5 separate regions of the Homo sapiens genome follow, and regions 1, 2, 3 and 4 are each linked to region 5. Evidence: promoter capture Hi-C in human tissues and cell types (Jung and others, 2019). All regions are on one chromosome and are shown on one strand. The core of a region is centred on a gene start or on the middle of the fragment in contact, and the rest is flanking DNA. Distances in the headings are between cores, read along the strand shown.

Region 1 (2,700 bases), core at 45-2,544, 190 kb after region 5:
ACATGGTAAGAGAGAGCAGCATAGAAAAATCACTTGGGAAAGATGAATTTTGAGGGTTACAATAACTGCTAATCAGGGCCAAGTGGTGACAGGTTCTTATTTATGGAAAGTGAGTATTCCTGATTTCCGCATTATGTATACCTGAGTATCTAATTCGGTCTTGATTAGCAGAATCCTCTCAAATGACCTCGTGTTCTTGTTTGTGATACTTATCTTAGGTTGCTGGGGGCTGAGAAGACTCACAGTACACTTTGATTGTTTCTTCCTGTTGCATTTATGCTGTGGTGTGTTGGCTCACGGCATCAGGCAGCCAGGCTTTGCAGGCTGGAGGATGGAGCCAGTGTGAGTATTCATAGGAACGTGTCCCCTGAAGAGGATGCCCCTCCTTCTCCTAGCTACAGACCCGAGATACTTCATTACAGATGACAGAGTTTCCACTGGCAAGGAAACTCAGGTGAGATTCACCACTTGAGGAAGTCACATTCTCTCTCTGCATGTCCTTCAGCTGGATTGTGTCACTGTAGAAGCAGTTGCTGAGGTTACGAGCATGTAGGAATAGTCCTCGAGCTAATGGTCAGGGTGGCAGTGAGAATAAAAATGGAGGAGCATGCACCTTCCCAGGGTCAGTTCTAGCAGCGTGGAGCCTTGTGTGTGCAGCACCTGTTCAACCCGAGTGCTCTGATACAGTCAAAGGATCTCTACCTGGCCAGGAGGATCCCAGATCCTCCATCGCTGCTTCCCCAGGCCAAGCCAACATGTGTCACTCTACACCTCTCCCAGGCCCTGGCCTGCAGTGGGGAGATCTCCCACAGGGAGTTCCTTGGCTTCAGTGCCTGGGTGGCATCTGCAGCACCACACCTCTTTCTCTCTGTATTTTAAAAAATATTTTGTTTATTTTTAACAGGTTTTATTTCTTCGGAGCAGTTTTGGGTTTACAACAAAATTGAGTGGGAAGTACAGAGAGTTCCTTTATATCTACTGTACCCATAGCTTCCCCATTACCAACATCCCATGCTAGGGTGGTACATTTGTTATAGTTGATGAACCTATATTGACAAATCATTACCACCTAAAGACCATAGTTTACCTTAGAGTTTCTCTCTTCTCCCCTCTCTACCTCCCTCCCTCCCTCCCTCCCTTCCTTCCCATTGTCTTGCTCTGTTGCTCAGGCTGGAGTACAGTGGCGAGATCTAGGCACAGTGCAGCCTTGACCTCCCAGGCTCAGGCAATCCTCCTACCTCAGCCTCGCGAGTAGCCGGTACTATAGGCGCATACCACCACACCCAGCTAATTTTTGTATTTTTTGTAGAGATGGGGTTTTGCCATGTTGCCCAGGCTAGTCTCTAACTCCTGAGTTCAAGTGATCTACCTATCTTCGCCTCCCAAAGTGCTGGGATTATAGGCATGCACCACTGCACCTGGCTAGGGTTTATTCTTGGTGTTGCACGTTCTTTTGATTTGGAAAAATGTAGAATGATACACATCCACCTTTATAGTATCATGCAAAGTAGTTTCACTGCCCAAAAAATCCTCAGTGCTGCTTATTTTTTCCTGCCTTCGCCCCGCCCCCTGACCCCTGGCAACCACTGATTTTTTTTTTTTTTTTTTCTTTTTGAGACAGAGTTTCGGTCTTGTTGCCTAGGCTGGAGTGCAATGACAGGATCTCGGCTCTCAGCAACTTCCGCCTCCCAGGTCCAAGTGATTCTCCTGCCTCAGCTTCCCAGGTAGCTGGGATTACAGGCGCCCACCACCATGCCCGGCTAATTTTTGTATATTTAGTAGAGATGGGGTTTCACCATGTTGGCCCGGATGGTCTCCTAACACCTCAAGTGATCCGCCTGCCTTGGCCTCCTAAAGTGCCATGATTACAGGTGTGAGACACCGCGCCCGGCCCAACCAGTGATCTTTTTACTGTCTCCCTAGTGTTGCCTCTTCCAGAATGTCATCGAGTTGGAATTGTATAGTATGTAGCCTTTTCAGATTGGCTTCTTCTGTTAGTAATGTGGATTTAATTTCCTCCATGTCTTTTCATGACTTGATAGCGCTTTTCTTTTTAGCACTGAATAGTATTCTATTGTGTACATGTACCTTCTTGCTCTTTTTACTGGAACCTCTCATTCTGTTTTCCCAAAAGAAAAACTCAAGTAGTTGATGAATAACACTTACCTATGGTGTTCATCAGGTTCTACTGTTGGTATTCTTTGTGGCTTTGTGCTCTTTTAAAGGGTCCAAGTTGGAATGAAAGAGAATAAGAGCACGTTTGTGCTCTTAGGGTTCAGGGATGAGGGAATAGTGTACAGAGGGGAATCTTTTTGTTTCATTCTCCAATTGTTATACCGTGAAAGCCTTTGTTTGCTTTGGAGGTGGGAAGGAAGGCATAAATGTAAAATAGTGTATTTCCCTAGTTGACAACAGACCAAAGAGTCGAGAAGTTTATTCACAGACCCCAGGTTTGTAGCAAAAGAGTGAATAGTGGGCCGGGTGCGGTGGCTCACACCTGTAATCCCAGCACTTTGGGAGGCCGAGGCAGGCAGATCACCTGAGATTAGGAGTTCCAGACCAGCCTGGTCAACATGGCAAAACCCTGTCTCTACTAAAAATACAAAAATTAGCCGGGCGTAGTGGTATGAGTCTGTAGTCCCAGCTACCCAGGAGGCTGAGGCAGGAGAATCGTTTGAACCTGGGAGGTGGAGTTTGCAG
Region 2 (2,705 bases), core at 122-2,621, 240 kb after region 5:
TTGTTTTTGGGACCCAACAAAAGGCAAATATTAAATTATTTTAAAATAAGTAGGGTAAAGCCCCAGGCAGCAGTTAAAATTGAGAGTCCTAATACATTGAAGCTTTGTGAAAATCCCTTAGAAAATACATGAGCATTTTAAAGGTAATTGAGGGCACCATAGATCATTTTAACATCCTTTTCCCATTGTTCTTAATCTAGAGAATCTCTTCTATGTCTTTAAAGTCAGGAAATTATCTTTTTTTGTTTCTTTGGTGGGGTTATTTTCAGTTGTGTCGTGTATATAACGAGCTGCCAGAATGATCATTAGTAACACTGTAAAATCACATCTACTGTCACAGGTAGCCTTTCTGTAACTATTGGAAAAACTGGAAATATGGCACCAACTAATCATCATTTTTGCTTATTAGTAGGTTGACTATCACTTGGAAAGAGGACAGGTCATTTAGGTAAAGCCAGATTTTAGGTATCAGAAGAGAGATCCAGAAAACAGACTTGGGTTTTAGACTAGATGACTTCTAAGGTACTTACCTTCCTTAAAAGTTGTCTAGGCTAAAACCCGGTGAGAAAGTTGAGGAGGGCCACTCAGACATTTTTGGTGCTGAATGAGGACTTGACTCCCTGATATTTTTGCTTTTAAATACATCCCACTCTGTTCCCACTGGCCCTGCGGTCATACTGGTGGGACTTAGCCCTAAGAGAGCACATAACTCAGAGGAGGAGAAGTGCCACAGACGTCGGGATCTCATCACAGAGGAAGGTCTGTGAGCAGCCATTCTCCAGCAGTCCGAGGCCAGGTTTGTTTTGACATTGATTTTTTTTATTTCTGTTACTGCTCTCTGGAGGTATATCACAACAAGATTTAATGAATGTTTTTTGGTCTGCGTTTATTTGATGCATGACCTGGTGATTTGAGTTCCACCGTTACCTTTTTTTTTTGGCTTTCTGATTATGTACCACATAACTAAATCAATAAAGAAGAGAATGGAGAAACAGCTCTGTTTAACATTTCAGGGGTGATGGAGTAATGCTGTCTATAAATATTTATATTTTTCTGAGAAGATGTCTTTTTCTTTTTGACATTCAGACGAGTTCACCAAGAGATTCATCACTAAAGAGAGGGGGAGGAGTGTGAAGGGGGAATGAAAAGACATCTTCCCCCCAGTAAATTTCTAGATGTCTTTCGAAAGATAAATAGAAAAGAAAACTTAAAAGATTTTTTCATTTGAATAAGCCATTTTTTTTTCTAAGGCATTGAAATGCTTAGCTAGCCTTTTCTCACCCAGGATAGTAACAATCAGGGGAATATGGATATATAACCAAAGGATCCCCAAAAGCAAAATAGACTCTGTTGGCTTGCAGCTTCCTATGAGTTCCGCAGCTTCTCATACCTCCCAGGTTGCAGTCTCTCTCTCTCCTTTCTGCCTCCTCTCCTTGTCTTGACTTCAGCCTTGTCAGAGCCAAATCACTTCCTAAAGGCCCCACCTCTTAATACTGTTGTATTGGGGATTAAGTTTCAACATGAATTTTGGAGAAGACACATGCAAACCGTAATAGAGGAAGCTTGCTCAGTGGATTCCTAAGTCAAGATGCCTTCTCTTCTCTAGCACAAATAATCACTCATCCATTATTTTTTCAGGTTTGATAGTTTTCTTCCTTTCTTCCTTTCTTCCTTCCTTTCTCTTTCTTTCTCTCTCTCTTCCTCTTTTCTTTCTTTCTTTCTTCCTCTTTTCTTTCTTTCTTTCTTCCTTTCCTTTCCTTTCCTTTCCTTTCCATTCCTTTCCTTTCCTTTCCTTTCCTTTCTTTCTCTCTCTTCTTTCACTCTCTCTCTCTCCCTCTCCCTTCCCTCCTCCCTCCCTTTCTTTCTCTTTCTTTCCTTCTTTTTCTTTCTTTCTCTTTCCTCCTCTCTTTCTGTCTTTCTTTCTTTCTCTCCCTCCCTCCCTCCCTCCTCCCGCTTTTTCTTCTTTCTCTCTTTTCTTTTTGTTTTTTGGTATAGACGGGGTCTCCCTATGTTTCCCAAGCTGTTGAATTCCTGGGCTCAAACCATCCTCGTGCCTTGGCTTCCCAAAGTGCTGGGATTATGGGCATGAGCCACCATGCCCGGCCTTGATAGTTTTATAGTGAGGTATTTTTTAATAGTCTCCTCTCTATAGATGATGATAAAATCTGTCAACCTCAGTTTCATCAGGAGCTGTGGTGATGTGCGAGCCCACAAGGATCACAGTAGGTACAGCCATTGGACCACCGGTAAGAGAGTGGCTCCAAAGTCTCTGTGGGCACTAGTTAGAAGTTATGTGTGCTCCCCCCGAATCTTTCATACAAACTTATTGTCACAGCTTTCTAGACAGCCCCAGCGCCTGCTTAGAGGCAGTCAATGATAATAAGTAGTTAACGGAGTACATAGTCTCATTCTGGGGACTAGTGCCCCTGTGGGGCGTGGCATTAAAGTTGAGCAGCTCTTGCTTGTGCTGGAGGCCATTTCTGTTCTGACTAAATCTCACCTGCTTAGGTCTTGTCTGGAAAGGTCGAGAAGGCCCCAGAATAATCTTGGAGCCCTTCAGGAACCTCAAGGACTCCTAACGACCTGAACCCTTAGAGGTGTGACTTCATCCTCGAATCACTTAGATGTTGGAAGGACTTTAGTGATCAGAGTGACCTAGGCTCTTATTCCAGACTTGTCACCCTGTACTGCTTGCTACTGTCCTC
Region 3 (2,700 bases), core at 171-2,670, 210 kb after region 5:
GACTACTGGGATTGAACAGAGCTTTGGAGCAAGAAAGGAAAAGGGAGTCACGTTTGGGAGAAATAGAGAAGGACATTTCGGTGGAATCTGTGTTATGTCTTCAAGTAGCAGTAAATAAGGTTTATAGGAAGGTCTGTTAGATATTTTGATGACCTGTATTGCTAGGCCAAAGGCTATGGATTTTGCAATGTAGGCCAGAAGTTAGCAATCTTTTCTGGCAAAGGACTCAACTACAAATATTTGAGGCTACTGCCTATGTTGCAGCTATTCAACTCTGCTGTTGGCACACAGAAAGCAGGCATAGACAAGTCATAAATGGGTGTGGCTGTGTTCCAATGAAACTTGATTTATGGACACTGAAATCTGAATGTCATATAATTTCTATGTATCATGAAATATAATTCATTTGGTTTTTTTCCTTAACCCTTTAAAATTATAAAAACCATTCTTAGCTTTTGAGCCATAGTTTGTCAACCTGTGCTCTAGGCATTCGGGAGCCATAGAAAATTCTTGCACATATGAGGGAGCTGCTCAAAAGGGTTGTCAAGGCGGGGCATGGTGGCTCTCAACTGTAATTCAGCACTGTGGGAAGCTGAGGTGGGAGGATTACTTGAGCCTAGGAGTTCGAGACCATCCTAGGCAACAAAGTGAAACCCCATTTCTTAAAAACAAAAACAAACAAAAAATACCACACACAAATTAGCTGGGGGTAGTGGGTAGTGACATGCACCTCCCGTCCCAGCCACTTGGGAGACTGAGGTAGAAGATTTGATGGTGCAGTGAGCCATGATTGAGTCACTGCACTCCAGCCTGGGTGACAAAGTGAGACCTTGTCTTAAAAAAAAAAAAAAAAAAAAAAGAAAAGGGTGGGGGGCGATTGTCAACAGTATATTAAAGAGAGCTTCATAAGAGAGAGGGAGCCCAGGTTCAGGAGGGTGTTGGTGGTTGCAGTGTGTAGTTGGAAGGAGGCCGTGGGAGTGGAAAGTGGATTTCTTCTCTTCGTCTTCTTTTTTTTTTTTTTTTAATTATTTGAGATTATGGAACTATTAGGAAGCATGGAGCTCATATTATGCGATAAGGGATTTATATTAATCTCTCAAAGCTGTGTTCTCTGATTTTCCATAGATTATACACAGACGCAAGCCTACCATCCTGTAGCGTGTGGACCTAGGGCAAAATTTTCTCATTATTTGCCGCTGCCGCCGCCTCCTCCTCCTCCTCCTCCTTTCCCCCATTAAGAAACCCAAGACTGAGCCCCATCATAGGTGAACTTTTTGTATCAGCTGTCTTGTATGTCTTGTTTCTTACTACATTTGCAGGCTAACTGTTGAAAAAACAGTATTTTGTTTGTGGGAAGAAAATCAAAGGTGATGTAAATGAAAAGTGCATTTTCATATAATGGAAATTATTAGAGGAACTTTTAAAATGTCACTGCAGATTAATGCAGACAAGGAGCTGAATATATTAGAAAGTAGGTCAAATTTTCTCATGTTTATGAATGAGGTGAATTACAGTGTAGGTTTAAGTTTATAAAATTGGGCAATACTATAGTTTATATGAAATATCCTAGCCTAAATGCTATTATACTAAAATATAATTAAAATAAATTGAGTTTGTTTCCTTATCCTTTGTGTCTGAGTATTTTATACGTAACATTTTACAAATTTAATAAACTAGTAAAAGCGATGAGCTTCTTGTTGTTATTCACATTTCCTGTATTGGACACAGAATCTACTCTAGGGAATTAAAGCTGGAGTCGATTTAATCCATGGGCAAGCGAATCAGGAATCCTTGGCAGTTTGGGAGGAACAGGCTCTGGGCTGAGCTTCCAGTCTACTCCCTATCCCCAGCACCATCTTTTCCTACCAGAACCAGGGAAGTTAGGCTGTGGCTGCTGCTATGAGAGGCTGTTGAATTGAGAATCCGGTACTTGACCTGCCAGCTCAGAACACACGCCTCCTCCATGGGGAGATCTTGCTTCTTGTGGATAACCGTGTGCTCTGCTTTTCTTCCTTGTGACTCGGTTGAACACCAGAGTCACCTATAAGCCCATGTCATTGGTGTATCTAAGTCACGTTGGACACCGTAGCAGCAAAGAGATCTGGGCAATCAATATATGATGTTTAGACCTGCAGCCTCCCCAAGCTGCAAGCGAACTACCCTTCCCATCTTCACGAAATGTCTCTTCAGATGTGCCTGGTACCACAATCAGGGGCAGAAGGGCAGTCTGTCAGAATTTCCCTTCTTTAGATACATTTCATGTGATACATTTTGATAGACTTGTCTAGAGGTAGTAGTGTTACACCAGTGTCACTAGTTAAGTAGTGTTAGTCGATAGTGCTAGTGATGACTGATAGAACTTAATAAGAAGACAGTGTTTACCATTTCAAAAAGATTTTTTTTTTGTTTTTTGAGACGGAGTCTCACTCTGTCGCCCAGGCTGGAGTGCAGTGGTGTAATCTCAGCTCACTGCAACCTCCGCCTCCCAGGTTCAAGCAATTTTCCTGCCTCAGCCTCCCATGCAGCTGGGACTATAGGCACCCACCACCATGCTTGGCTAATTTTTTTTTTTTTTTGTATTTTTAGTAGAGACAGGGTTTCCCCTGTTGGTCAGGCTGGTCTCGAATTCCTGACCTCAGGCGATCCACCCACCTCAGCCTCCCAAAGCGCTGGGATTACAGGCGTGAACCACCACGCCTG
Region 4 (2,700 bases), core at 59-2,558, 160 kb after region 5:
AAATGCACATAAAAATAAATGAATTTTTTAAATAAATGCATCTATATTAAATACCCCTAATTTAATATAGAAGGGACTGAATTTTTGCCTATTATGTGCCCTTAGCATTATGCTTTGTTATTGCATATAATTTAGGTGGAAAAATGCTTCCTTATTATTTATAAAATACTTATTAAAATGCTTAAGTTGTCAAGAGAAATTATATAGTGATGCTTCTGTTTAATAGCTGTGGTTTACTTTTTATGCTGTGCAATTAGCTTGGGATGCATATCTTTTAATCTAATCTTTTTTTTTTTTTTTGCCAGTAGCTAGAGCTACAGAACATAACACAGATTCAGTCTTGCAGTTTTATTATTTTCTTTCACTAGACTTGACAGAGGATTTCAAGGACTCAATTTTCAGGTAGATAAGTAGTTAATGACTAGATGCAGTTGGGTAAACATTATCTAGGATCAACCAAGATGCTTAATCTAAATTATTACAACAGTTGTTTCTGGAATGAGTACAATGTGAGGAAAACACTTTAGTGTTAAAGTGATTCTCTAACCCCTGCCCCCCTCACTGTGGCAGGAGAAAAGAGGATATTAAAGCTTGGTTGATGCTCATTCATGTATTTCAGGGAATATAGGGACTATTTAATAGTATGAATAGAATTTCCGTAGATAAAGATTTCCTTGATCTAGTATGAGGAAGTGAGACCTTGTACCAGCTGTTGATACCAGATATAGAATTTTGGTTGAGTTTTAAGCCCTATTTATACCAGAAAGCTGTAGTTTTAACTTAAGATGACTTAGACAATGAAAACGCTACTGGGAAAGAGATACTAAAATGTTCACAGTTTTGACTGACAGAAAAACTCAGGAGAATTGTAGAACTTTGAAATAAGTCAGATAAATCCTTTCTAGGATGATGGGACAGAGAAATTGTAAAGGTTTAGGATTACCTGTTTACTGCTTAGAAAAAAATAAAAAATACACTTTTACCAAGGCCAGTAAGAACTATTTTCTGGAACAAACGGAAAAAGCTGGATAATGCTACTGACTGAGTTAAGGGGATAAGCCACCCAGTACCCAGGCCTCAGTTTCACCTAACAAGGAGACAGGCCTCGAGCATTGTTAAGAGCCATAGGATTCTATTTTCCAGTGAGAGAGTACCACTTACGTGATAACTTTGCACCTCTGTCCCAAATTCAGCACTCTAGCAAGATGCCAGGAGTTCTCCTTGCAGGTGTGGAGAAAACTTAAGGGTCTGGCAGAGATGTAGATTTAGAAAATTCGTGTACACTTGCTTTGCTGTGAAAAATTCACAGAATTTTTGAAGTTTATAAATTCTATTTAGAAAGAAAAAAAAAAACACCCTTCTCACTGGTTAGGAATTAGGAGATTTCTTCCCTGTGATATTCTTAGTTTACTCTTGGGGTGATTTTTGTTTGTTTACTAGTGCAGGTATTCAGATAGTCATCTAAATCCTACAGGCACACCCTTTGAAGTGCGAAGCTTTTCCTGCAGAACATCTATGGGAGAGGCCCTTAGTAGAATGTTTCAAGGAAAAATATTTCAGATAGTTGTCCATGTTCCTTTCTTAATTTTATTCCTAAAAAATAGCAAGCAAACTTTTTTTTACGTTACTAATTTTTCATTTGTGAATATTTATGAAAAGACTCAGTTGAAGTGTTCCTTTATATTAACCTTTTTTTGTCTGAAGATTTTTATTTATAGCATGAATGAATTCTTGCTTGCTCTGAAAGATTTAAACATTGTAGAAAGCTTCAGAGTAAAAGTAATAGATTAGATTGTGTCCCTCCTCAGAAGATCCTTTGTAAATAATGTCACTTTCTTGCTGTCTTTGAACTTTGTTTATGAAATATAGGTTTTAACTGTGGCGTTTGCCACACCTGTGAACTTTTCTTTATGTCTTCTGAGTTTTGTAAATATACTTGATATTCTTTGTCTCTTTTTCTGGTAGTTTTAAAAATATTTATCTGTCTAGTCTACCTAGGATTTGTTCTTGTGTATGATAGCAGTAGAGCTGCAACTTAATTTGTATGTGGATTTTTACTTTTCCCGGTATAATGTGTCAAACAGTTTGCTCTTTTTGTGCCAGTTTTAAATATCTTTATTGTATCCTAAATATCAATGTATTTGCTTTCTATACTCTCCTGTTCTAGTGATAATAGAATATGTCTATTTTCATAATGCTGTCACTCTGTTTTTGTTACTGTAGCTTTGTACTATATTTGATTTTATGAGGATATTTCCTTTCATTATTCTTATTTTTTAAACTTTTTTTTTTTTTTTTTGGTCATCCTAAAGGTTTTTCTCTTCCAGTTGGACTTTAAGATTAGTTTTCTGAGTTGAGATGCTCGTTGACTTAACGTTGACTTAGTTGACTTTACAAACTGAGGAAGAATTGTTGTCTTACAATATTGAGTCTTCTCATCTGGGAAATGGTAGTTCTCTCCATTATTGTATCTTTTTGGTTTTTTTTAATGTCATGTAGTAAAATTTAAAATAAGATTGGTTTGGCATATATATGGGTAGGTTTATTTCTTAGGAGTTTTTTTTTTCCTTTCCCCTCCTACCCTTCTTTCTATTCCTATTTGCTATTATGAGTAGAATTTTTTTAAATGCCATTTTCTTTTTTTTCTCTTCTCTTCTCTTTTTTTCTTTTCTTTTACAGGGTCTCACTTTGTCATCCAGG
Region 5 (2,700 bases), core at 85-2,584:
CGGACTTATTCAAAATAATTTCAATTTACAAAATCAATTCAGTCTCCGGTTTATGGTGACAGCAGTTTCTTTCTCTGAGAAACACTAAAAAGTTGCCAGCAGTTCCATTTGAGTAACTGAATAGATTTGCTACCTATTTCCTGGTCCATTCTGTATTGGGATGGAAATAATGTCGTCTTTCCTTTTTTTTTTCTTTTTTGAGACAGAGTCCCGCTCTGTCATCCAGGCTGGAGTGCAGTGGTAGGATCACCGCTCATGCAGCCCCCGAGCTCCCGGGCTCAAGCGATCCTCCCACCATTCTCCCCAGTAACTGGGACTACAGGCATGCGCCCCCACACCCGGCTGATTTTTAATTTTTTTTGTAGAGATAAGGTCTCGCTATATTGCCCAGGCCGATCTTAAACTCCTTGGGCTTGAGATCTTCCTGCTTTGGCCTCCCAAAGTACTAGGAGTAAAGGGGTCATGGCTAATTCTTGTTTTTTTAAATTACTAATGTGTCCCTTACAGATAAATAAAAAAGTAAAATTACTCACAATTCCACCAATCACTGAGAGACTTATTGGTGTTTATCTATCCAGTCTTTTCTGCCTTTCTCCATAAATCACAGTTTTTAAAAACGGGACCATACGGTACATAGTGTTTTGTCTCCTCACCCCCTTGAATAACCTTCACATTGTTCCATGGTATTTACAGTATTTACTAATAATGACTGTAAATGTAAGAGGTATATAACTGACTTTATTCAGGGCATGGCAAGCAGGAGTGAATTATTTTCTTCTTATCAACACAGCACGCCCCTACCGCCACTCATCCCTATAGTCGTTCTCTAAATACCTAAGTGACACCTGACCAGCAAGGTTTCAGGGTCCTTGTGCTGAAAGGAGCAGGCTCGCCTGGGGTCACGGCCCTCCGCTTCGCAGCAAGACCCCACCGCCCACCACGGCCCTCCAGTTAGCCACAGCTCGCTTCCCCCAGGACCGGGCCAGAGGTCCCGAGAGGGCACTCTGCGGACCTAGGGGCCCCAGCCTACAAGACGCTGTGTCCTGCAGTCATCCCCTTTACACAGCAGAGCCCCAATTCTGGGAAGCCGGGGTCACCCCGAGCCTCCCTTCCCCGTGACAGCTCGGCCGGTGCATCACCTTCCCTCGCGGACCCTTTCAGCATCACCACGCGTGGGAGGAAACCCAGGACGGGCGCCTGAGCCTCGGTGGCGGCCCACCCCGGTGCCGCGCGGCGCCGCGGCCGGACCGGCGCCGCGCCGTCCCCGAATGATGACGCGCTTCCTGCCCTCCCAGCGCTCTCGGGCAGTGCGCTCGCGCTCGCCCTCGGCTCTTGTTCCGCGCCCGGAGCCAGCGGCGGCGGCAGCGGCTGAGGCGGCTGCGGGAGCGGAGTGGTCGCCCAGCGCGCGGGGGGACGCGGGCTGCACTCCCGGGCAGGCGCTCTGCAATGAGACAGTAAATGCATCCCCCGGTAAGGCGCACGGCTCACTCGGGTTTTCCTCTTCCTCCAGCTGCATGCACGTTGCATGAATTTCTCGTGTCTTTTCCCTCCCCTCTCCAGAAGGAAAATGTGGGGTTTTTTTTCCTCCCTTTTGCTTCTCGTGAGTGATGCCAATGCAGGAAAAACCCGTAAAGCTCCCAGATTTGATGGTCTAGGAGGGCTTCTTGCAGGAAAATAAAAATAAAATGAAATTAATGCACCTGTCTATTGCACATGTATGTTTCACTGCACCGGACCCGGGCGCAGCGGTTTGCAAACAGCCTCGCAGTCGGCGCCAGAGAGCGGATTCCTGGCCGTGGGCAGCCGGTCCCCTCCGGGGCTCTCGCTGGGTTTCCGGTAACTGGGCTTTGAAAAGCGGCCCCGCCTGCATAGAGTGTCCCCTCGACCCCAGCCGGGCCCCCGCGCCAGAAGAGTTGGCGCTGGAGGAGCAGCTTCATTCCAGCACTGGCCGCCGGGACTCCAGCGCCACTTTGCAAACAAGTCTCCCGCCGAGGCTCTGGGCTAAGACAGCCCGCCAGTGCGGAGTTCCTTCTCCGGTGCCGGACACTCAGACCTGCCGATCCCACGACTGCCCTTTACTTGGCAATCTCGCCACGGGCGAACTGCTGGCCGCTGAGCGACGGGGGCAGTGCCGGGCCGAGAGCGGGGCCAGGCTTTGCATCCAGTGCGGCTGGCCTCACACAGACTCAGCGGCTCCCTCTCCTTCCTCGGTCCCACGAGCTGAAATTTTGCGCCCATTGGAAGCTGGAGGGACCTGGAGACGAGTATTTCGGGATCCCTGAGGGGACCGAGGAACGACTTTCGAGGGCGCCATATTTTCAGTGGGTCTTGACTGCGGAGGGGAGGGGGCGAGCAGTTTCTGGGTCCCGGGGAGAGCCCCGCGCCCCAGTCGGAGAGGCCTGATCGGTTGTCGCCGGGAAAGTTTGCGCGCCGAGGCAGGCGCGGAGGCGGCCGCACAAGGCGCGCACGACTGCTGTCCCCGCAAGGGCGCGCGGACTACAGCGCGTCGCCACGCCAGCCGGCGGGGCTTGGGAACGAGAGCCGCCGTCACGGACAGCGTGCTGGGCTTGCCGCCTTCCTCTGTCCCGCCTGGACCCGGCCTTGGGGCTCCGAGGCTCAGGGAACACGCCCCTCTTCCCCGCAGCTACCGCTGCCCGGGTGCTCAGCCGGAGCCGTGCGCTGGGCGGCGTCCCGGGGCTG

Evidence for each region. Contacts are between HindIII fragments. The study calls those that stand out against the background at their distance.
Region 1: a fragment that was not itself captured here is called in contact with the fragment with the promoter of TLN2 in region 5 in 1 of the 25 tissues and cell types used here (mesenchymal stem cells).
Region 2: a fragment that was not itself captured here is called in contact with the fragment with the promoter of TLN2 in region 5 in 3 of the 25 tissues and cell types used here (IMR-90 fibroblasts, aorta and heart left ventricle).
Region 3: a fragment that was not itself captured here is called in contact with the fragment with the promoter of TLN2 in region 5 in 1 of the 25 tissues and cell types used here (H1 embryonic stem cells).
Region 4: a fragment that was not itself captured here is called in contact with the fragment with the promoter of TLN2 in region 5 in 4 of the 25 tissues and cell types used here (adrenal gland, aorta, heart right ventricle and 1 more).

What each region holds. Positions count from the first base shown.
Region 1 is chr15:62,579,287-62,581,986 of GRCh38, forward strand. All of the region lies in intron 1 of TLN2 (talin 2), which reads left to right. Among named protein-coding and RNA genes, the nearest start is that of MGC15885, 65 kb to the right of the region's middle. The HindIII fragment of the contact is 7,026 bases long and covers 1-2,700 here.
Region 2 is chr15:62,629,775-62,632,479 of GRCh38, forward strand. All of the region lies in intron 3 of TLN2 (talin 2), which reads left to right. Among named protein-coding and RNA genes, the nearest start is that of MGC15885, 14 kb to the right of the region's middle. The HindIII fragment of the contact is 6,002 bases long and covers 1-2,705 here.
Region 3 is chr15:62,603,688-62,606,387 of GRCh38, forward strand. All of the region lies in intron 2 of TLN2 (talin 2), which reads left to right. Among named protein-coding and RNA genes, the nearest start is that of MGC15885, 40 kb to the right of the region's middle. The HindIII fragment of the contact is 6,822 bases long and covers 1-2,700 here.
Region 4 is chr15:62,553,653-62,556,352 of GRCh38, forward strand. All of the region lies in intron 1 of TLN2 (talin 2), which reads left to right. Among named protein-coding and RNA genes, the nearest start is that of MGC15885, 90 kb to the right of the region's middle. The HindIII fragment of the contact is 4,460 bases long and covers 1-2,700 here.
Region 5 is chr15:62,389,216-62,391,915 of GRCh38, forward strand. It overlaps TLN2 (talin 2), which reads left to right and starts at 1,335. Exons shown (of 59, transcript NM_015059.3): 1 at 1,335-1,470. RefSeq lists enhancers at 755-824, 1,743-2,357 and silencers at 991-1,187, 1,235-1,564. The HindIII fragment of the contact is 23,885 bases long and covers 1-2,700 here.